Linked DNA regions of Homo sapiens: regions 1, 3, 4 and 5 are each linked to region 2. The links are contacts of gene promoters, found by promoter capture Hi-C in human tissues and cell types (Jung and others, 2019). All regions are on one chromosome and are shown on one strand. Each heading gives the region's core, a stretch centred on a gene start or on the middle of the fragment in contact. The rest is flanking DNA. Distances are from core to core; before and after follow the strand shown. Region 1 has its middle 140 kb from the start of LRIG2. Region 2 holds the start of MAGI3 (membrane associated guanylate kinase, WW and PDZ domain containing 3). Region 3 has its middle 81 kb from the start of LRIG2. Region 4 overlaps MAGI3 (membrane associated guanylate kinase, WW and PDZ domain containing 3). Region 5 overlaps MAGI3 (membrane associated guanylate kinase, WW and PDZ domain containing 3).

Evidence for each region. Contacts are between HindIII fragments. The study calls those that stand out against the background at their distance.
Region 1: a contact is called between a fragment that was not itself captured here and the fragment with the promoter of MAGI3 in region 2, in 1 of the 25 tissues and cell types used here (thymus).
Region 3: a contact is called between a fragment that was not itself captured here and the fragment with the promoter of MAGI3 in region 2, in 1 of the 25 tissues and cell types used here (H1 embryonic stem cells).
Region 4: a contact is called between a fragment that was not itself captured here and the fragment with the promoter of MAGI3 in region 2, in 1 of the 25 tissues and cell types used here (hippocampus).
Region 5: a fragment that was not itself captured here is called in contact with the fragment with the promoter of MAGI3 in region 2 in 1 of the 25 tissues and cell types used here (hippocampus).

What each region holds. Positions count from the first base shown.
Region 1 is chr1:113,214,717-113,219,334 of GRCh38, forward strand. No RefSeq gene overlaps it. Among named protein-coding and RNA genes, the nearest start is that of LRIG2, 140 kb to the left of the region's middle. The HindIII fragment of the contact is 3,324 bases long and covers 1,006-4,329 here.
Region 2 is chr1:113,387,452-113,391,929 of GRCh38, forward strand. It overlaps MAGI3 (membrane associated guanylate kinase, WW and PDZ domain containing 3), which reads left to right and starts at 3,064. Exons shown (of 21, transcript NM_001142782.2): 1 at 3,064-3,898. The coding sequence starts at 3,583. RefSeq lists silencers at 1,396-1,640, 2,630-2,679, 2,710-3,069, 3,480-3,609, 3,670-3,829 and enhancers at 3,510-4,009, 4,060-4,109. The HindIII fragment of the contact is 4,324 bases long and covers 1,359-4,478 here.
Region 3 is chr1:113,152,156-113,156,467 of GRCh38, forward strand. No RefSeq gene overlaps it. Among named protein-coding and RNA genes, the nearest start is that of LRIG2, 81 kb to the left of the region's middle. The HindIII fragment of the contact is 7,078 bases long and covers 1-4,312 here.
Region 4 is chr1:113,544,727-113,549,176 of GRCh38, forward strand. The region is part of intron 1 of MAGI3 (membrane associated guanylate kinase, WW and PDZ domain containing 3); the gene reads left to right. Among named protein-coding and RNA genes, the nearest start is that of MAGI3, 160 kb to the left of the region's middle. The HindIII fragment of the contact is 4,969 bases long and covers 266-4,450 here.
Region 5 is chr1:113,607,413-113,611,746 of GRCh38, forward strand. The region is part of intron 6 of MAGI3 (membrane associated guanylate kinase, WW and PDZ domain containing 3); the gene reads left to right. Among named protein-coding and RNA genes, the nearest start is that of PHTF1, 150 kb to the right of the region's middle. The HindIII fragment of the contact is 7,685 bases long and covers 1-4,334 here.

The sequences.
Region 1 (4,618 bases), core at 1,418-3,917, 170 kb before region 2:
GGAGTTGAATGACTGCCTCTCTTCAAGGTGCAGGTACAAGCTACCAGTGAATCTACTATTCTTGGATCTGGAGGATGGTGGCCCCTTTTTCACAGCTCCACTAGGCACTGACCCAGTGGGGAAGCTGTGTGGAGTCTCCAACCTCATATTTCCCCTCCACACTGCCCTAGTAGAGGCTCTCTATGAGGTCTCTGCCCCTGCAGCAGGCTTCTGCCTGAATACGCAGTCTTTTCCGTATGTCCTCTGAAATCTAGGTGTAGGCTCTCACACTTCCTTCACTTTTGCATTCTGTATGCCTGCAGGCTTAACACTACATGGAAGCTGCCAAGGCTTATAGCTTGTGTCCTCTGAAGCAGCAGCCTGAGCTGTATCTGGGGCCCTTTGAGCAAAGCTGGAGCTGGAGAGGGTGATGCAGGCAGCAGTGTCCCAAGGCTGCCCAGGTCGTCCTAAGACTGCCTCAGGCACTGGGGCTCTGGGCCTGCCCCCACAACCATTCTTTCACCCTAGGCCTCTGGGCCTGTGATGGGAGAGGCTGCCCTGAAGGTCTCTGAAATGCCTCTGTGGCCATTTCCCCATTGTCTTCGATTATTAGCACTTAGCTCCCTTCTAGTTATGCAAATTTCTCTAGCGAGTGGTTGCTCCACAGCCAGCTTGAATTCCTCTCCCTAAAAAGCTTTTTCTTTCTCTGCTACATGGCCAGATAATTTTCTAAACTTTTACACTCTGCTTCCTATTTAATTTCCAACTTTAAGTCATTTTTTTGTTCCTGCATTGAAGTGTAGGCTGTTAGAAGCAGCTATGCCACTTCTTGAACACTTTGCTGCTTAGACATTTCTTCTGCCAGATACTCTAGATCATCACTCTTTAGTTCAAACTTCCACAGATCCTTAGGGCATAAACAGAATGCAGCCAAGCTCTTTGCTAAAGCATAATACATGAGCTTTTGCTACAGTTCCCAGTAAGTTCCTTGTTTTCATCTGAGGCCTCAAAAGCCTGGACTTCACTGTCCATATCACTATCAGCATTTTGGTCACAACCATTTAACCAGTCTATAAGAAGTTTCAAACTTTCCCTTATCTTCCTGTCTTCTGAGCCTTCCAAACTCTTCCAACCTTTGTCCATTACCCAGTTCCAAAGCTGCTTCCACATTTTCTGATATCTGTATGGCAATGCCCTACTCCTCAGTATGAATTTTCTGTATTAGTCCATTCTTGATTGCTATGAAGAACTATCTGAGACTGGCTAATTTATAAAGAAAAGAGGTTTAATTGGCTCACAGCTCTGCAGGCTTTACAGGAAGCATGGTGCTGACTTAGCTTCTAGGGAGGCCTCAGGAAGCTTACAGTCATGGCGAAGTGGGACCAGGCACATCACATGACAAAAGCAGGAGTAAGCAAAAGAGAGTGACGGGGAGGTGCCATACACTTTTAAATGACCAAATCTCATGAGAACTCACTATCATGAAGACAGCACCAAGCCATGAGGAACCCACCTCCATGACCCAAACACCTCCCACCAGGCCCCACCTCCGGCATTGGGGATTACAATTCAACATGAGATTTGGGTGGGGACAAATATCCAAACTATATTAGCAACTGTCCATCCAGTGGAATTTTGGTGGCTTCATGGGGAAGACATTCCATCCCTCTCCTTTTCCCATACCTTCCTTCAGATGACCTACCCCATTACCTTCAAAGAATTCCACAGTCACAAAGTTATTCCTTAGGCATAAGACTCTTTGTCTCCTGGAAAACAGAGAATCTCTGGAAGGGATGGTCTAGGTCTTATGAGAGTCAGGGAGAATTGGTGTATGCAATCCTCTGCTGGGGGCAGGCTTTTATGAGAATAAAAGAAGAGGAAGCCACTGTGAGGATGTTCAGAGGAGAGGGTAGAGAAGATGGTGGTGAAAGGGGAACAGTAGGACCAAGGAGCAAAGACAACCAATAATTTGGGGATTTCAGAAACTCTGACATCCTGTCCTTTATAATTCTGGAGGTGCTGCTGAGCCCTGCTGCCTGCTCTGGAGTTTCTTGGCATTTGCTTTGCCTGTTTGCTCATTTACTATCAGCAAAGTAGCTGGACATTTCACCAGTTATCAAGGACTGTGCTAGGTCGGGCAGCACCAGGGGCTACGGACACACAGACAGCCTCAGCTGCAAGGGCCAAACATCGTCACTCCAGAGAGGAGGTCAAGCTCCAAGCTGGCCTCACCTGTGGCTGCCTGAAGACTGGGAAATGCACAGGCTTTCCAGTGAGACAAAGCTGAGTTCAAACCTGGCCCTGTTCCTCTAGCTGTGTGGCCATGGACATTGATTACCCTTTCTGAAGCATAGCTTTACCAATTGTAAAGTGAAGATCATCATACCCAACCCAGAGGGTTGTTAGGAGAAAAAATGAAAGAAGCTTTGTAGCATACCTAATGCAGGGTCTGGATCACAGCAATTGCTGAAAAACAGTTGTCCCCTTCCCCTTCCCTCTTGGCTCTGTCTTCCTGCATTTCATTAGTCAGATCTCTGCGGTTTTCCTAGAACATCTCTAACTGCAAACCACCAACTACTAAAAACCCTCAAGGAGGGGTAAAATGGATAATAGGAATTTCTAGTGACATAAAAGTGATATCATGTTTGTATGTGTAACTATCAATCAATTTCAGAGAAAAGCAGGCTTGCATATCTGAGCAGACACCACCAGCTTTCTTCTGCTTCTGCAGATTGAATTTTATTTTATTAAGAGCAGAACAATGGGCCTGATTTTCCTCTTTGGATACTAAAGAAGACAAATTAGTCAAAAGGAAATTCAGCTGAAACTGTATTTAGTGTTTGAGATCCTAAGCCCCGAGACGGAGCCTCTGTGTGACCTTGAGGAGCTGCGTGCATGCTCACTGCTGGATCCCAGCATGATGTGGCCATGTCTGGGTCAGGAGCACAGGAGGCTCAAGGCCAGTCCAGGGCCTGGTCAACAGAGCAGCACACGCAAAATCAAAGTGACCCTGGGCCTTGATGAGGGACACGCTGCCTTCCTGAGCAGTGCATGCTGCATGAGTGTAACTGATTACCACATTTTTAAAAGAAAAAAATGGATTTTCTTAACCTTTTTCCTTTTCCCCCACCTCCTACTTAGCTCTTTAGGAATGCAATTATAACCTTTACCTTCTCTCCACCAGACACTCCCTACACGGCAAGCTTATCTAACTATGTGTTTACTTAGAAGTTCTGGAGGCTGAACCTTGAAACACAGCAGGCACTTCTGGAACTCTCTCTCGCCAGGAGATTGCCTCAAGATAACAGTTAATTTACAACCTAAATTTTGCCCTAGATAAAATTAAAATTGTCAATTTACAACAGGGCCCTGCCCACAATGGTGCTAGCCAGACCACTTGATAGATAAGACCCAGGAAGCAAGTCACATGGGCCCCACACCTCCTCCCCTACCTCCTACATGAGGTTGACTCCAAGTCCCCCTTTAAAAGCCCCTGCTTTCTGCCCTGAAAGCTGAAGTAATACCCTTAAGGCAGGAGCCTGTACTTCTTCCTCTCAGCTAAGCTCTGGAATAAAAGTCACTTTCTTTCCGCCAGAACTCCTTATTAATTGGACTCTACCAGCCATGAGCAGCCGGATCCGTGGGACTCACTGTCACAACTGGTTGTGGGGACCGTCCCCCACACTGGCAAGTTCAAGTCAACAAACTATGCTAGGCAGTGTTAAAGGTAGAGGGCGAAAAGGGACTATAACATGGTCTCCACCCTCCTGAAATATTAAACACAAGCTAGGTCAGGGATTCTTAATCTTTTTGGTGTCATTGGAAATCAGAAGTATAGACCCCTTCTCAGAATAATGTTTTTAAATGTGTGAAATGAAATGAGATCACAATTGAAACCAACTCGAATGGAGCACACGAGGTCTCATGCACACATGGAGGGAAGTATTATTGCTAATTTAGAGGTATGAGCAGATCATAATGGTCAGGGGGTGTCTGAAAACTTTATGGAGGAGCCGTTAAAGACTTCTACACACAGAAATGGGGGAAGGCATTTCAAGCACAGGGAACAGCATGAGCAATCGTTTGGAAACAAGGGCGTGCAGATGCATTAAAGGGAACAGAATAATCAAGTGAGGCTGGGGCTTTGCAGGAAGCACCCAGTGCTTGTACCTGGGTCCTCTCTCTGTCTCTTAGAATCCTAGCCAATGTGAAAGGAAAATAAATCTTGGGGTCCCCAAATCACTAAGCTAAAGGGAAAAGTCAAACTGGGAACTGCTTAGAGCCAACCTGCCTCCCATTCTATTCAAAGTCTCCCCTATGCTCACTGAGATAAATGCATATCTGATTGCTTCCTTTGGAGAGGCTAATCAGAAACTCAAAAGAACGTAACCATTTGTCTCTTATCTACCTATGACCTGGAAGCCCCCTCCCCACTTTTGCTTCAAGTTGTCCCGCCTTTCCAGACCGAGCCAATGCTCATCTTACGTATGTTGATTGATCTCATGTCTCCCTACGATGTATAAAACCAAACTGTGCTCTGACCACCTTGGCACATGCCATCAGGACCTCCTGAGGCTGTACCATGGGCACGTGTCCTCAACTTTGGCAAAGTAAACTTTCTAAATTAACTGAGACATGC
Region 2 (4,478 bases), core at 1,814-4,313:
ATAATTGCCAAAATAATATCCTACCAGAATTAATTCAATAGCATGGGTAGCTTATTTCTAGAATATTTTAAAAACTGAACCAAAGCTTACTAAGATGGGTGAATTTAATACAATGTTTTTAGCTTTGTCAAAGATAGTACAATTTAGCACAAACTAAAATAAAAATTTACTGTTTGCTCTATGCTGCATCCTATGTTATCAAATAGCTTGACTCAAATTACTTGACTCAAATAGCTTCATACAGTTCTCACAACAACTCAGGTAAACACTGTCATCAAACCCATTTTGTGGATGAGGAAATTGAGGATAGGCAAGGTTAAATAGCTTGCTCAAGATCACAGAGCTAGCAGTAGAAAAGCTGGGATTTGCAGTAAGTAGAAAAGCTGGGATTTGCAGTCTGATTTGCTCAAGCTCTGAACCACTGCAGTTTTCTGCCCAAGAATGAATACAACTTATTCATGGTTGAGGCATGTGGCAAACACTGTTGGATGCCTACTTAGCAACTATTTCCCCTTTTCTGCTCTCAGTCAGAACACTCATTTTGTTTAGGGGTGACTTGTGATCAATTTAATGAACTGTGGCCAATCCTATCTCTTTTTGCCAGTGACTGGTCTGATGTGGCATATGACCATTTTCTGGACAATAAGGAAGATTCTAAAGTCTGGGAAATATTTTTCTCCTTCATAAAAATGGGGGACAGCACTTCCTTTTCTTCCGTTCCTGCTCTGTGCAGTGACCTCTGTGGATGTGATGTCTGGAGCTATGGCAGCCACATTGCAATTAAGAGGTGACAAACCTGGAGACAAAAGCTCACATGCATGTGATGGCAGAGAGCAAACACAAAAAAGAGCTTGGGTCCTTGATGACATGATTGTACTGCTCAACTAACCCTGAAACTATCTGCACTTGAAATTTATATTGAAGATATAGTAAATGACCTCATGCTTTAAGCTACTGCCAAATATTCTGTTCCTTGAGGCCAAAGGCATTCTAACAGATGCAATCTAGACACAGAAAGATGTTTTCCCAGAGTTCCTGCAAAAACAGATGATGTGTAGGTTATGGAGATTTTATCCAGGAATCCATTAGTATAGGTAGTAGTTTAGAAAAAAAATACTCCAAGCTTTGTCTCAGATATGGTTAAATCTGAGCCATCCACATGGTGTCTGTGCTGAATATTTTCCCCTCAGATGCACTGTTTCCTTTTCTGAAACTGACTGATATGAACTATATCAAAAGCCTCCCTTGCCCTCTGGCGTCTGGTTGGACTTGGCCATTGACAAGCACCAGCAGGAGACTGGAGGAGGGTGGTGAGTTAGATATAAATCCCCCAGGTCCTTTGCTGGGTGTTTACTTAGGCTGACTGCATCCGTTGACTGAAGGTCACAGACTCCTGTCAGGTGGCCCTGTGTGTCTGGATTTTTCGGTAACTGTTCTTTCCCGATTGGACAGATCTAGGAGCTGTAGCCTCAGGGTTCCAGCTTCTCTTGTGGTTTCCCACACCCTGCCCACATCTTTGCAAAATGCCATTTGTTTCCTGCCAGGACCCTGACTGATACAATGGTGTCAACGAAATCACTGCAGCTATTGAAGCTTGGTCCAGTCTATCTGAGGTGTGGAGTTTTATAAGGGCTTTCACCTACTATTAAAGGGAGACAGGAGACTACACAAATAAATGTCATGCTGCAAAAGTGAAACAAAGATCATAGCTCAGAGAAAACACTTTCCACTTGAGGGCAAGAAATCAGAGAAAGCTACCTGGAAGAGCCGGCATTTGGGATGAGGACGGATAGGAGTTTTAAAAGAGATGAGATGAAGGGCATTCCAAAGACAGGGAAGAGTGTAAGTCAAGCCGGGGAAGAGAGAAAGCTCAAGTGAAATTTCTGAAAAATTAGAGCTGGAAGGGATCTACGATATCTTTTATTTAATGTTCGTTCTCCCTTCACCTCCTTTAACTGAGATTTGGCCAAGGTCAAACAGCAAGTAAGTAGCATGTCAGGACTCCAACCAGATCTGCTGGCTACCAGGTTAGTTCTTAATAATCCACCTTCTACCTCCACCCCACTCCCTCACCTCAGGCAGTCTGCTTACTTCTCAGTCTCTCCCACTAGACTGTAACCTCCTCAATAGCGGGGCTTCTGTTTTCTTCACCCTTGAATCCCAGTACCTAGCACAATATCTAACACAAAATCGTCATCGTCATCAGCAGCAGCAGCAGCAGCTACCAAACTTTAAGAGGCAACCACCCACTGTCAGGCACTATGCAGTTATTTTGTACATCTTCTGTAATCTTCACTTTTCACTGAGGACGCTGCGGCTCAGAGAGGTTGTCTAATTTGTCTTAGGTCATACAGCAGTGCCGGACTCTATTTTATAATATCTTTCATCAACCGGACTCCGAAGCCCTGCCTCAATGGGCGTTCAGTAACATCTGTTGAATGAACGAATGAACAAGCAATATCCACTCAATGCAAACTATCGGCTGTAACAGGCCACCCTAAAGGCCCCGGAACCTCGGCCGGCTCAGGACTCCGCACGTTGTCTTCCAATCTAAGCACACCGGCCCCTCTCTGCGCCCCGCACAGGCTCAGAGGCTCCGCCCGCGTCTCCGCCTAACTCGCCGGCCACGCCCCCACTTCGGGGAGCTCGGTCCCTCTCGGATTCGAGTTTTCCTCGGCTCCAGCCGCCGCGCAGAGGGCCTCTCCCGGCCCTGCGACCTACAGCCCCTTCCACTCCCCTGCCCCTCCTCTGCGCCCTCCCTCACTCTCCAAACTTCTTTTTTCCACCCTCTCTAAACTTCAGTCATTCTAGTGCCCGCCTCCTCCACTCGCACCGACCAACCAGTGGTCCCCATTCTCGTTGGCGGTCCGCCTCCTGCCCGCCGGGGGCCAATCCCTGGCGCGAGAGTCCAGGGCCGGGGCTCGTTCCCAAGCGCCCAGCCTGTGACGGCAGCGCGCCGGGCGCCGCGCGGCGGGAGGGGGCGGGGCTCTGGATGAGGGATGGGCGAGGGCCGGGGGAAGGGAAAAGGGAGGAGGAGGAGGTTGCGGCTGGTTTGAAAGCGGCAGTTTCCTGGCAGCTTGGGCAGGCGTTGGTCTCCGCGCTACAGCTCCGCAGCGGCCACGATCGATCCCGCGACGGGTCTACGCGCGCTTCTGCGCGCCCCCCACGGATTTTTCCCGTTCCCGGCTCTTCCCCCTTCACCTCCCCGCCCCCCCGCCTCAGCCTTTCCCGCCGCTCGGGCGCTGAGCCCAGGGACCAGCCGGCGGCAGTGACCCCGCCCGAAGCCCCTTCTGGAACCTCCTGGGGACAATTCCCTTTTCCTTTCTTCAGCCTAACCCGCGGTGGCCCTCGCGGAGTCCGGTCAGCCCCGGGGAGCGCAGCCGGGAGGGGCGTCCAAGGGGCGTCTCGCGTCTGGGAACGGCCGGGCCCCCAGCGGGCTGTGGTCGCGGGGTGGGGGCCGGAGCGGCGAGGCCCCCCTTACCGGGCTGCGCGGGCCGCCCAGGGCCCCCGGGCTGAGACGGGGCCGGAGCGGCGCCCCGGCCGCCCGCGCGGGGTCTCCCCCATGGTGCAGCGGGGTTCGGGATGTCGAAGACGCTGAAGAAGAAGAAGCACTGGCTCAGCAAGGTGCAGGAGTGCGCCGTGTCCTGGGCCGGGCCCCCGGGCGACTTCGGCGCGGAGATCCGCGGTGGCGCGGAGCGTGGCGAGTTCCCCTACCTGGGGCGGCTCCGCGAGGAGCCCGGCGGGGGCACCTGCTGCGTCGTCTCGGGCAAGGCGCCCAGCCCAGGCGATGTGCTGCTGGAGGTAAACGGGACGCCTGTCAGCGGGCTCACCAACCGGGACACCCTGGCTGTCATCCGCCACTTCCGCGAGCCCATCCGTCTCAAGACTGTGAAACCAGGTACGCCGGCCCTGCGTATCTGTCTCGGGGTGTTGGGGAGAGGGGCTTCAGGGTGGGCGTCCTGGGAGCGGCGGCACCTCCCCACCGCGTATTGTCCCGGGTAATCTTAGACCTCTAGGGTGTGCCAGACTCCTTGACGAGGGGGAGGGGTGGCGTTGGTGAGTCCCATTTTGCCGAAGGGAAAACTGAGCTCTGGCTTGGCGCGGTTGCTCTGCTAGCTGTGCTAGCTGTCACAGAATTGCGACTAGAAGCTGGGTTTCCTACATTTGTAGCTCCATCTCCCCCCGCAGACAAGAGTTTTTGACTAGAGAAGGCCAGCCTTTTCCTGTGTTGTGCAAAAAGGCCCTTAGGATTGTAACATTTTCTTTGGAACGATCTTACGCATCTTCTAACAGGGAAAAAGGGACTTTACTATAGAGGCACTTGGTGCCAAGGTTACCACCTGGTGTACCTGGAAGGGCTTAGCTGCTTCAGTGTTTCTTGCACTCTAGCAGACATCTCAGAGCTGACAGCCTAACTCTGTCAGTCCAGGTGGTTCAGGTGTCTGAGTACCGATGACGGTACAATATGTGATATGTGG
Region 3 (4,312 bases), core at 1,574-4,073, 240 kb before region 2:
AACCACAATTTTAGAACATTTTCATCAGCCTCATAAGAAGTCCCATATCAATTAGTAATCACTTCCCCTTCCTGCCAAACCCCTAGCAAAAATTAATCTATTCTGTGTCTCTATGGATTTGCCTAGGCTGGAGTGCAGTGGCGCAATCTCGGCTCACTGCAAGCTCCGCCTCCCGGGTTCACGCCATTCTCCTGCCTCAGCCTCCCGAGTAGCTGGGACTACAGGCGCCCACCACTATGCCCGGCTAATTTCTGTATTTTTAGTAGAGACGGGGTTTCATCGTGTTAGCCAGGATGGTCTCAATCTCCCAACCTCGTGATCCACCCACCTCGGCCTCCCAAAGTGCTGGGATTACAGGCTTGAGCCACTGAGCCCGGCCAGTACTTCATTTCTTAATTATGGAAGAATAATATTCCACTGTATGAATATAGCACATTTAATTTTAATTTTTTTTTTTTTTTTTTTTTTGAGATGGAGTTTCACTCTTGTTGCCCAGGCTGGAGTGCAATGGTGTGATCTTGGCTCACCACAACCCCCGCCTCCTGGGTTCAAGCAATTCTCCTGCCTCAGTCTCCCAAATAGCTGGGATTACAGGCATGCGCCACCACGCCTGGCTAATTTTGTATTTTTAGTAGAGACAGGGTTTCTCCATTTTGGTCAGGCTGGTCTTGAACTCCCCACCTCAGGTGATCTGCCTGCCTCAGCCTCCCAAAGTGCTGGGATTACAGGCGTGAGCCACCACCTGCAGCCTACCACATTTTATTTACCCATGTATCAGTTAATGGACACGTGGTTTGTTTGTTTTTGCCATCACGAGGAATGCTGCTATGAACACTGGTGTACAAAATTTTATATGGAGATATGCTGTCATTTCTCTTGGGTACCTACCTAGGAGTGGAATTGCTGGGTACATGGTATGATTGGGGTTCTTGATGGCAAGCAATAGAAAATGTCTCTGGCCGTCTTGAACAAAGAGGAAATTTACTGGCAGAATAGTGGAGGCTTCCAGAATCCACAAGGGAGAAGCTGAAGAGCTGGGCCTGGAAAATGGGGCAAGAGCCAGAAGGACTTCAGTGGTCAGGCAATGGAGCTGCAAGCAGCACCGCCCCATAGAAATGCCTGGGCCTGGGCACTGTTGCAGCCTGCCCTTCTGGCTCTTGTCCAAGATTCAAAGTCTAGCAGAGAGCCTCCAATTGGCCAAGGCTGTGAATCACTCCCCTTCTCCCCACAAGCTGGGGGCCAGGGAGATGAATGATCTGACCACTTCAGCCCCACAGCATAAGGGAGGCATTACACAAGTGACAATTTCTCCAAAAGAGAAATTAAGGCAACAATTTGAAGTTGGAATTCGGGGGAATGCTGGATACCTAACAAAAAGACAAATGTAATACAGCAGGGCCAGATTATGAGGGGGAAAAAGCCAACACAGAGAGGAGGGAGAAAGCAAGGGAGGAGCAGAGAAGAGAGCAGAGCCACTGCCTTAAGCTCATTCTGAAGCCACAGAATCTGTGGATTTCCAGTTACATGAGCCAGGGTGACTTGGATTTTCTCTTGCTTGCAGCCAAATGCATCCTAACTGATGCAGTAGCGATTACGCATGAAAGCCAACTAGAGATAGAAAAAGGCAAGGAAACCAGTGAGAAGAACTTGGGTCTAGCCCCGTTTCTGCCAGATGCCTCTTAGCCGAAGCATTTGATTTCTGAACCTCAGTTTTCTCCTTTTTTCACAGAGTTGCGAAGTAAAATGAAGGATATAAGAGCCCTGTATAGACTAAAGTGCAAAGGACTTCCCCATAGGCTCTTATGACCAAACAAGACAGAAGCAAAAACATGGTAATAAATGAACAAACAGATGTTTTCTCAAAGGCTTTAATATTCCAGGTTCCCATCTGGCCTAAGTTTTCATGAGTTCTTTATACTAGGCATCTGGGTGGGAGGTAGTGGGGGGTAAGAGAAGGAAACATTTTGAAGTAGAATTAGGTCAAAGCTAATCATTACACAGCGTGTAGATTTTGGGAATTTGCTTTTCCTTTTCTCTCTATTCTTAAAAAGCATTGGAGAAACTGTAGGAGGGAAAGGAAGGAGGGTGGCAGATGTTTCCCCCTCATTCTCTTATTTTATCCTCACAGCAGCCCTTGGAGGTAGGGATGATTACCTCCATTTTTCAGAGGTGGAAATGGTTCAGAAAGGTGAAGTCACCCACCGTAGGTATGAATTTGAACTTAGTCCCAACAGATGTTAGATGCCAGGCTCTTCAGTACACCTCACCAACTCCCAGGAAACATAAAAACATACTCCATTATATTCCATTTGGTATCTGAGCTTCAAAAATTTAAAGGAAGCATACAGAGGGTTGAGGGAAGGAATTGTTCCCTCAGGTTAACTCCAAACATTCTTTTTCCCTAAGGGAGGCAACTGTGGTATCAAAAGAACATGGCCATATATGTAAATACCAAGGATATCTTTAAAGAATACTCAAGAAACTGGTCACAGTGAGTGACTTGAGGGTGGCAGGAGAAGAAACTGGGTCACTTAGGGATAGGGAAGAGAAAAACTTTCTTTTCATTGTTGGCCTTTTCCTTCATTTCTTTCAATTAATAAACATTTTTAGAGCAGTTTTTACATCACAGCAAAATTAAATGGAAAGTACAGAAATGTCCCATGTCCCCCATCCCCACACACGGACAACCTCCCCCACTATCAACATTCTGCCCCAGGGTGGTCCATTTGTTACAATCTATGAACCTACATTGGCACATCATTATCAACCAAGGTTCATAGTTTACATTAGGGTTCACTCTTGGTGTTGTACACTCTGTGGGTTTTGACGAAAGTGTAACGACATGTATCCACCACTGTGTTATCATACAGAGCCGTTTCTCTGCCCTAAGAATCCTCTATGCTCTGTCTGTTCATCCCCTTCTTCCTCTCACCTCTGGCAGCCACTAATCTTTTTATTGTCTCCATAGTTTTGCCTTTTACAGAATGTCATATAGTTGGAATAATAGAGAATGTAGCCTTTTCAGATTGGCTTCTTTCACCTAGTAATATGCATTTAACTTTCCTTCATGTCCTTTCATGGCTTGATAGTTTATTTCTTTTTAATGCTGAGTAATATTCCATTGTTTGGATGCACCACAGTTTATCCATTCACCTACTGAAGAACATCTTAGATGGTTCCAAGTTTTGACAATCATAATAAAGCTGCTATAAATACCTGTGTGCATGTTTTGTGTGTACTTAAGTTTTCAACTCCTTTGGGTAAATATCACAGAGTACAAAATGCTGGATCATATGGTAAGATTATGTTTAGTTTTGTACAAAACTGCCAAACTGTCTTTTTTTTTTTTGGGCTGTAGTACAGTGGCACGATCTTGGCTCACTGCAACCTCTGCCTCCTGGGTTCAAACAATTCTCCTGCCTCAGCCTCCCAAGTGGCTGGGATTGCAGGCATGTACTACCACACCCAGCAAATTTTTGTATTTTCAGTAGAGACAGGGTTTCACCACGTTGGCCAGGCTGGTCTTGAACTCCTGACCTCAGGTGATCCTCTCGCCTCGGCCTCCCAAAGTGCTGGGATTACAGGCGTGAGCCACTGTGCCCAGCCCAAACTGTCTTTCAAAGTGGCTGTACCATTTTACATTCCCATAAGCATTTCATGTTGTCAGTGTTTTGGTTGGCCATTCTAATAAGTGTGTAATGCTATCTGTTTATGTTTTAATTTGTAATTTTTGAATGGCATATGAAAATATGCCCTTGTTGAGCATCTTCCTTCCCTTTTTTCTTTAGAGACAGAATATCATTGTGTTGCCCAGGCTGTAGTGCAGTGGCTATTCACAGTATTCACAGGTACAATCACAGTGCACTGTAGCCTTGAGCTCTTGGCCTCAAGCAATCCTCCTGCCTCAGCCTCTGAGTAGCTGGAACTATAGACACGTGTTAGGCCATTCTTGCATTGCTATAAAGAAATACCTGAGGCTAGGTAATTTATAAAGATAAGAGGTTTAATTGGCTCACAGTTCTGCAAGCTTTACAGGAAGCATGGTGCTGGCATCTGCTCAGCATCTGGGGAGGCCTCAAGAAGTTTACAATCATGGTGAAAGGTAAAGGGGGACCAGGCACATCACATGGTCAGAGCAGGAGCAAGAGAGAGAGAGTGAGTGATTGGGGAGGTGCCACACATTTTTAAATGACCAGATCTTATGAGAACTCACTATTACAAAGACAGCACCAAGCCAAGAGGGATCCACCCCTATGATCCAAACACCTCCCACCAGGCCCCACCTCCAGCATTGGGGATTACAATTCAACAT
Region 4 (4,450 bases), core at 1,500-3,999, 160 kb after region 2:
GGAGCAAGAGCAACAAGAGGGAAGAGATAGCTCACTGTCTGAAGAAGATATTCTTAATGTCTGTTTACAGGTAAAAATCAGACCTATACAATTCTTACTTTGCTTCTATAATCTTGCAATAGCAGAAATCCTTTTCCTATAGTAAAAGGTAAAACAAACAACCTGAAACAGAGGAAATTAAACAAACAAACAAAAAATATGAGAAGATGGAGTATCATTCACTTTAAATGAATTTAAATTTTCAATACTGAAATGTATTGCCTCCCAGGAGTTGACGGACTCAGGTATAATCGTAGGGTTATTGTCACTTTTTTTTTTTTAACAAAATATAGTTTTTTGTTTGTTTGTTTTGTTTTGTTTTTTTTTTACAAAATCACTGAGAATATGGGGTAAATACTTGGAGACAAGAGAGAGACAAATGTCCTAGTTTCCAAAAAGGAATAAAGTATATTGCAAAAACCCAAGACCAATTCCCTACTTTAAACTGTGGTAAAATTTGAAGAGATTGTAAAAAAATGAAATATTGTGTTTAGAAGAGAATGGGATGATCACCATGAATCAATATGAATTTATAAGAATAAGACATGCCAAAATGACCTCATTTTTTTTTTGCTTTATTTTTAGTTGTATAATTGCTATTGGATTAGAGAATAGTAAAGACATGTTGTATCTTGACTTTCGCCAAGTGGTTGACAGTGTTTCCTTAACTATCCTTGTGGAAACATGATGAAATTAGATTGTAATTAGATTGATTTACAGCTGCTTGCCTGGCCATTGCCATGCCCGCATGCCCAGCGTTTAGTTAAATAATAGTTACTTTATATACTGGTTCCTCACAGAGAACTGGTGGTGAACATTAATTTGCATATATTCAGAAAGTATGGATTTGTAGTTAACGAGTTTTTTTAAGGATTTGTATGTTGAAACTTGAGTTCCTGGATTTATTCATGATTGAGGTTTCTGTTAGGGACTTTTTTGCAACCAAGCTGTATTTGTAAGATATATAAATCTGTTTTTAATTTACATATGTAACCTTGACTTATAAATTACTTAGAAGCCAAGGCGTAATATTAGCATTTAGAGCAAAGTCTGGCTATGTTAAGAATGCTAACGTTATGAAGAATCTTTTCTTTGTTCAGTAACAACTATAGTAAGCTCACTTGGATGTTTTTCATACCCTTGAAATGTCATTCCTGTGAACTATCCCTAAACAAAAGGCAGATGTTCATATACAAATTGATAATACAGATATATTCAGCAGTGTCTTTCTGAGTTAATGTGTCTGTTGGCCTTCTGGTAATCCCACAGTCAGCTGCCTGTTCAAGATATTTACATATTTTTTAAAAAAATACAAATTCCCTGGAATCATATCAAAGAGAGAACCATATATTTTGTTCACTTAGGAAGTTCTTTTGGCAGTCCATGATGGCTGCTACATCCAATATATTTTTTAATTAATTGTTACTTTTAGAGAATGCAAGTCCATAGTTAACTTATTAAACTTTCATAATTGATATTTCTTTGATGCTTGTAATATTTTGTTTCTAGCCTCAAAAAAGTGTGATAACTTTTTTGAATACTTGCAGATGTTTACATAAAATATCACATTTATTTATTTGCTTATTTTTGAGACAGAGTCCCACTCTGTTGCCCAGGCTGAAGTGCAGCCGCACGATCTTGTCTCACTGCGACCTCTGCCTCCCAGGTTCAAGCGATTCTCCTGCCTCAGCCTCTGGAGTATTTGGGATTACAGGCACATACCACCACACCCTGCTAATTTTTGTATTTTTAGTAGAGATGGGGTTTAATCATGTTGGCTAGGCTGGTCTCGATCTCCTGACCTCAAGTAATCCAACTGCCTCGGCCTCCCAAAGTGCTGGGATTACAGGCATGAGCCACCGCACCCAGCCAAAATATCACACTTACAAAATTGTCCCTCACACTTTTCTTTACAACTGTTCGTCTCGGTGTTACATCCAGAATCCCAGTAGAAATGAACGGTGAAAAACAGAGTGCAATTCCAGCCTTGGCCTCTGAGTCTTAAGATCTTGTAGGCCCTTAAAACAAGAATTGAGGCCAGGCACAGTGGCTCATGCCTGTAATCCTAGCACTTTGGGAGGCCGAGGTGGGCAGATCATGAGGTCAGGAGATCGAGGCCAACCTGGCTAATACGGTGAAGCCCCGTCTCTACTAAAAAACACAAAAAATTAGCCAGGCATGGTGGCGGGCGCCTGTAGTCCCAACTACTCGGGAGGCTGAGGCAGGAGAATGGCGTGAACCCAGGAGGCGGAGGTTGCAGTGAGCCAAGATTGTGCCACTGCACTCCAACCTGGGCGACAGAGTGAGACTCCATCTAAAAAAAAAAAAAAAAAGCAAGAATTGAGTTGTTTCAATTATTTTGCCTTAAGAGACCCATTATGCTGTAATTTATGATTTTATTGTGGCTTTGTCCTTAATTATATCTAATTTAATGGTTGTTATTTTATAGATTAAAATGCAATCTGAGTTTTTAGCATTTTATAGTTATCTTTGTACGTTATACCATATCTGACAGTAAAGCTTCAAATTTAAAAAAAAAAGGAAATCGTGAGTTAATAAAACAAAGTATTGAGTCAGATTGTCTTTTTAAATTATTCATGTATTATCTTTTATCCAAATTAAGTCTTTTTCTGAAAATATGTTGTATAGCAGATATTTAGATGTCGGAGCCTACATTATGTTGTTTTTAAGTGGGGGAAAAAACAATGATGCATTCTCTGTCCATTCAAAAACCCTAACCAAACTTCCCCAAATATCACAAAACACCTTTAGACAACTATATAGCGATCTACGAAAACTTTTGTATAACATTTACAAAACATTTGAGACATCTCTTACCTGATTTTAAAAATACTTAATGAATTCATTATTTGGTATATTTTTGTTCAATAAGTAATGAGACTATACAGTATTGATTATAAATTAGCATTTTATTCTATCCGGTGATGAATAGTATACTGTATGATTCTGTATTATACATTTAAAAAATGAAATAATATTATTTTTATCTAAATAAGGCTTGGGTTAGTGGGATCCCTAAATGCTTAATAGAAACAACCTCTGGGACCAGAGATTCTTCTGTGTTCATCCTGGTAAATATCTTTCAGGTTTATTAAAATCACAAAGGCTCCCCCTTGCTCAGCATCTATTTTTAGCAAGACAAAAGAAGGACTTTTTAGGGTTTGTGTTTATTAGTTTAGGATCTGAATATGTTTGCTGAACTTTTGACATACACTGATTTCCTGCTTATGTTAACACCGTCTTGCATAGGTTATGTTCATTTATACATATGAGAAGAGCAAAAGAGGGAGTTAGAAATGTAATATTGTGGAATAATAGTTAAAAAAATTAGCTGATCAATAGTATTTGGTTTATCTAAGCTTGTCATAAGTGCGTTGCTCTAAATAAAAGAGTATACTTTAATCAACTGTTCTTATTCAATAAAATAATCTATTTTGCCTTAGCATTGATTTTTTCTAATTATCTGAAGCCTTGTCTAATGAACAATGGTTTGGACTGTTTGGAGTTTCATTTTAAGTTCAACCCTTACTATAAATTCATTGCTATCAGATTTCTGCAATCCTGTTTTTTCTGCTTAATATTTCTTTGAGAGCCCTTATATCTCTCTATTTATTTCCCATTTTCCCCACAAATAATAGAAAATTTTTGACTTTCTTAATTATTCACATTGTATCTAGGAGTCAAGCAAGTGGACAGAAAATGCCTGTTCAATCTAGTGATAGGAAGAGGACCCTAAGGTAGGGCCAGTTTGGCCTTTTCGAAGATCAGAAAGATGGCCAAGAATAGGTGGAGCAGTGTTTGACAGTGGGAAGAGTGACCAAATTAGGATCAGGGATGGCTGGAGCCAGAACATGTAGGGCCTTCTAGTCCCTGTTCGGGATTTTAGATTTTGTTGCAAGTATAAGATATCTGAGGGGACCCTAAACAGAGTAGTAATTATCAGATTTATGTTTTAAATCTCACTCTGGCTTCTAAGTGGTGGGCAGCAGGAAGGAGACAAGAATGATGCCGATTAGAAGGCTGGGACAGAATTCCAGATGAGGAATCAGTGGTGGCTTAGATTAGGGTGGTGGCAAATGAAATGAAGAAAAGTCAAATATGTCTTGGAAGTAGAACCGACAAAAGTTGCTAATGTGTTGGATCTGGATGGGTAGAAGTGAAAAGGAGAAATCAAGGATGACTTCTAGATTTCGAGATTGTTTTGCAAGTTGATGGTGCCTTCTACAATAGGGAAAATGTTGGGGAGGAAACATTGGGGGCAGATGGAATTAAAAGTTCTGTTTTGGCTATCTGAAACTTGAGGTGCTTATTTGACTTCCAAATATATCTGCAATATATATGCATCAGTTTGATGAGTTTAGAGCTTGGCAGAGGTAGATCAAGGATGGAT
Region 5 (4,334 bases), core at 1,049-3,548, 220 kb after region 2:
ATATAGTTTTTAAACTAACCTCACATAAAATGGAAATGTCACTTTAAAAGATTTCTACAAAAACACTACTGATTGAAGATGATACAAATAGGCAAACCCAGACTAATAGCAAGAAAATGGAAGAACCGATACTGTTTGTGTATCATATATGACCATATATAAGCTTTTTTCAACTTCAAGGTAAAATCATGATAATTGCTTGTTTAATCACCTCCTTTAAAAACATCTATTTTTGTATATGTTTTATTATATACATATTAGAAGAGGGGCAGATGTCAGATTTTTTACTAAAAAGGCTACATGATCAAAAAACCTTGGAGATATTATGTAAGACCAAATTAATCTTTCTAAAACTAATTTTCTATCTATCTCTCCCTTGCTGTCCATTGTCAGCAGAGTAAAGTCCAGACTCCTTGGTTAAGTATTAAAGATTTTTTATAATTGAATCATATTCTATATTTATTTTTCAAAGTATTCTCATGTCATAAATCTGACATATTTTTCGTCTTTGCCATATACCCATTTCTTCTGCCAGGAATCAGTCTTGTTTCCTGTGTCTACCTGGCTCATACCTATTATCCTTCGAAGCTCCAATCTAAAGTATAATTTCTTTGTAGCCCCTTCTGTCATTTTCTTGCAAGTCAGAAGTAGACGTCCTCTCCTCTGTGCTCAGTAGTACCATATGACATGTCTCTCTTGTAGCAGTTATATTGCATTGTAACTAGATACCACACTCAGAGCAATGATTTTTGACACATTCATCTGTATATCCTTTCAGTAGAGACTTCAATGTTTGAAAAGAGGGAAAGAGGGAAGAGAGGGAGGGAGGGAAGAAGGGAAAAGGAAGAGAAAGGGAAAAAAAGAAAGAAGCTACTCTATCCTCCAGATTATTTTGGTCGCCCTTTTGGAAATACTTTTCAATCTCTATAAGGCTCTGAGGGGCCAATAAATAATAAGCCCGTCTTCATTCACCAGTTTATAGTCAATAGAGAAATAAGACACCAGAGACAGACAGATGAAGTCAGAATGTCAGCAAATGAATGTTAGCCCTGCATGTACATGGCCTTGCTGTTATTTTACCCCTGCAGGAGGGAGACATGAGTACTTAGTCTTTGGCCTCTGTGTTCAACTGCAAGCCTCCTCCCAACGGGCAGACATGGCAGAGAACAGACCAGAATACGCCTCTGCAGGCAGGCTGTTAACCAAAACAGTGAGAGAACTCAAGAGTCCCTGAGCCAAGCATATTGAGTTCATTGTGTAAAACTCCCCAGTCAGATAAGACATTCTTTCTTCCTTGGGGAAGAAAGTGAAGGGGCTCCGAGAAACTGGAAATGTTCCTCCCATTCTTTATTCTCTAAGGAATTTGAAGAATTGGATGAACATTTCCCCCTAATGCTCTTTACATTAAGGCTGAACATATGTCTTGGTTGGCCCAGGACTGATCCAGCTTTTTCCTGTTGCCCCAACATAATTATTAATAGTATCCCCTTTTATTCTCAAAAGTGGACAGTACATTTTATGATCATCCTAAGTATATTTTTCTTAAAATAGAATGATCAAAATTGCATTCAGTATTCTGGGAATGTTTGAAACTCTTTAATATGGGCTACTCTCCCACTTACAAAACTGGGTACACCTTTTTAACATTGCCTATACTTATCTTCGGGGGAGCCTACAATTTAGAACATTGAGTCTATTTGTTTTATGCTCAGCCAGCCTTTTCCACTTTCCTCTCTACACTTTGTCTCCCCACGTAATAGCCCCACGGAAGACTATTTTCAGGATGAACTATGTGTGATTCATATTAGTATTCTCTGCAGTGCTTTGCACAGAGTAGATGCTGAAAAGAGAAGAATAATATTTTAAGTGTAGGTTTTATAGGTTAAGATATTGTTTACATTCTGCTGAACATTTAAGATCTTCTAGAAAGACCTTACAGTTTCTAAAACATGCCCTTTTCTTCCCAGTCTTCTGATATTCTGAACACAGCTGTGTATTCAAATACAGTGTAAGGACACAGCTTGAACAGCTTGGTTTAATTGATGTACATTTTATCTTCTATTCAAATAAAATAGTGTTTTGGTTAGGTAGTTGTCTTGAAAATACAACATTAGGAATTCGTTTTACCCTCAACCCATCCCATTTCTCTTATGATGAAAGAAAGATTAAATTTTTGCTAAAGGCAGCTTACAAATATATTGAATGTTGATATTTCAGAGCTTAGAGAATGATTAAAAAAATTATCAACTGAATAGAGCTCCACCATGAGAAAATAATTGTAATTCTTACATTTAAACAAGAAAAATCCTATTTGGGGAAGAGGAAAGAAAGATAAATTCATGGGATTTAGAACCAACCAGCTGCTTGATATGCCCAAAATAGTTTTGTCTTTTGAAATAGCTTTTTAGGGGAATACTTTGGCTTCATACACAGGAAAAGATGGTTAGGTTAGGTCTTTCCTGTATCAAAAATAAACAAACAAATTTTCTCTTGGCCCTAACCCTCCCCATAGTTTTTATACTATCTTTTCCACAAGCAAATTTTTGTTTTAAGTCATCTATTCTTAAGGACTCTACTTCGTATTTTTCTCTTCAGTTACTACAGTATTCTGACTTTTGCCTCCTACCTTTTCAGGGTTACCAGTAACCTCCTGATCTTATAGACTCTTTTTAGCCCTTATCTTTATGCCTAACAGCTTTACAAAGCGTTTTTTTGTTTGTTTGTTTGTTTGTTTGTTTTGAGACAGAGTCTTGCACTGTTGCCCAGGCTAGAGTGCAGTGGCGCGATCTCGGCTCACTGCAAGCTCCGCCTCCTGGGTTCATGCCATTCTCCTGCCTCAGCCTCCCCAACAAAGCGTTTTTTAATGCTGACCATGCCCTTCCTCTTCTGTCTTCTTTTACACCATTCCCCCTGATGATTCTTACTTTCTCCATCTGCCGCTTAAAATGTTAGTGCTCCTAAGGTTCTGTTCTTCACCTTTCTCTGCTCAGTTTATCTAGGTAATCATGTCTGCTGTCATAGCTTTAACTACAATGTCTCTCAAATCTTTATCTTCTTATATTTCTCTTTGGAGTACCGGGTTCATACGGCCAAGAGCTTGTTATTTATCTGTACCAGGATGTTCTACAGATCACTCAAATGTAACACCTTCCCTTCCTGCCTTCAACAGATATGACATCCCCCCAGCTGCTTGAGCCAAAAACTGGTTGTCATCCTCGCCTTTCCCTCACTGTCTCCTCTCTGTTGCAGTTAACTACCAAGTTCTATCAATTCTAACTTTTAAAAACCTGCCATTCGGGTGGATCACGAGGTCAGGAGACCAAGACCATCCTGGCCAACATGGTAAAACCCTGTCTACTAAAATACAAAAAATTAGCTGGGCATGGTGGCACGCACCTTTAGTTCTAGCTACCCGGGAGACTGAGGCAGGGGAATCACTTGAACTGGGGAGGCGGAGGTTGCAGTGAGCTGAGATCATGCCATTGCACTCTAGCCTGGCGACAGAGGAAGACTCCATCTCAAAAAAAAATAAAAAATAAAAACCTGCCATTTCTTGAGTGTCCATTGGTGGTAGACACATTACTAGGCACTTTTAATATATCATCTGTCTCCTAAATTCCTCTAAATCCACATTAATTTCTAATTTCTATTCCCACAGCCATTTTCATAATTATTCTTTTTTTTTTTTTTTTGAGACAGACTCTCACACTGTTGCCCAGGCTGGAGTGCAGTGATGAGATCTCAGCTCACTGCAACCTCCACTTCCTAGGTTCGAGCAATTCTCCTGCCTCAGCCTCCTGAGTAGCTGAGATTACAGGAACCTACCACCACGCCCAGCTAATTTTTGTATTTTTAGTAGAGATAGGGGTTTCACCATGTTGCTCAGGCTGGTCTTGAACTCCTGACCTCAAATGATCTGCCCACATTGGCCTCCCAAAGTGCTGGGATTACAGGCGTGAGTCACCGTGCCGGCCCATTTTCATAATTATTCAATAAATATTTGATAATGTATCACTTTTATGCCACAAAAGCTAGAAACCTGGGAATCATCTTTGCCTCTTTCCTCCCTTCCCTTCCTCAATCCTCATGGTAGTCATTAAGTTCTGTTACTTTACCTTCTTTGTTTTATTATCCATTCTACTACCCCTGCCTTAGTTCCAGTCTTCACAAGTTCTTATGCAGTCTATTAGTGTTTATCTTATTTGTCTGCCTTTATTCTCATTGCACACCATCTATTTCGTCCTTTATTACTGCTTCCCATAATCTTTTTCAAATATAAATTAAATCATGTCACAGTTCACCTTAATCAATTCTCTATCATCGTCAAAATAAAG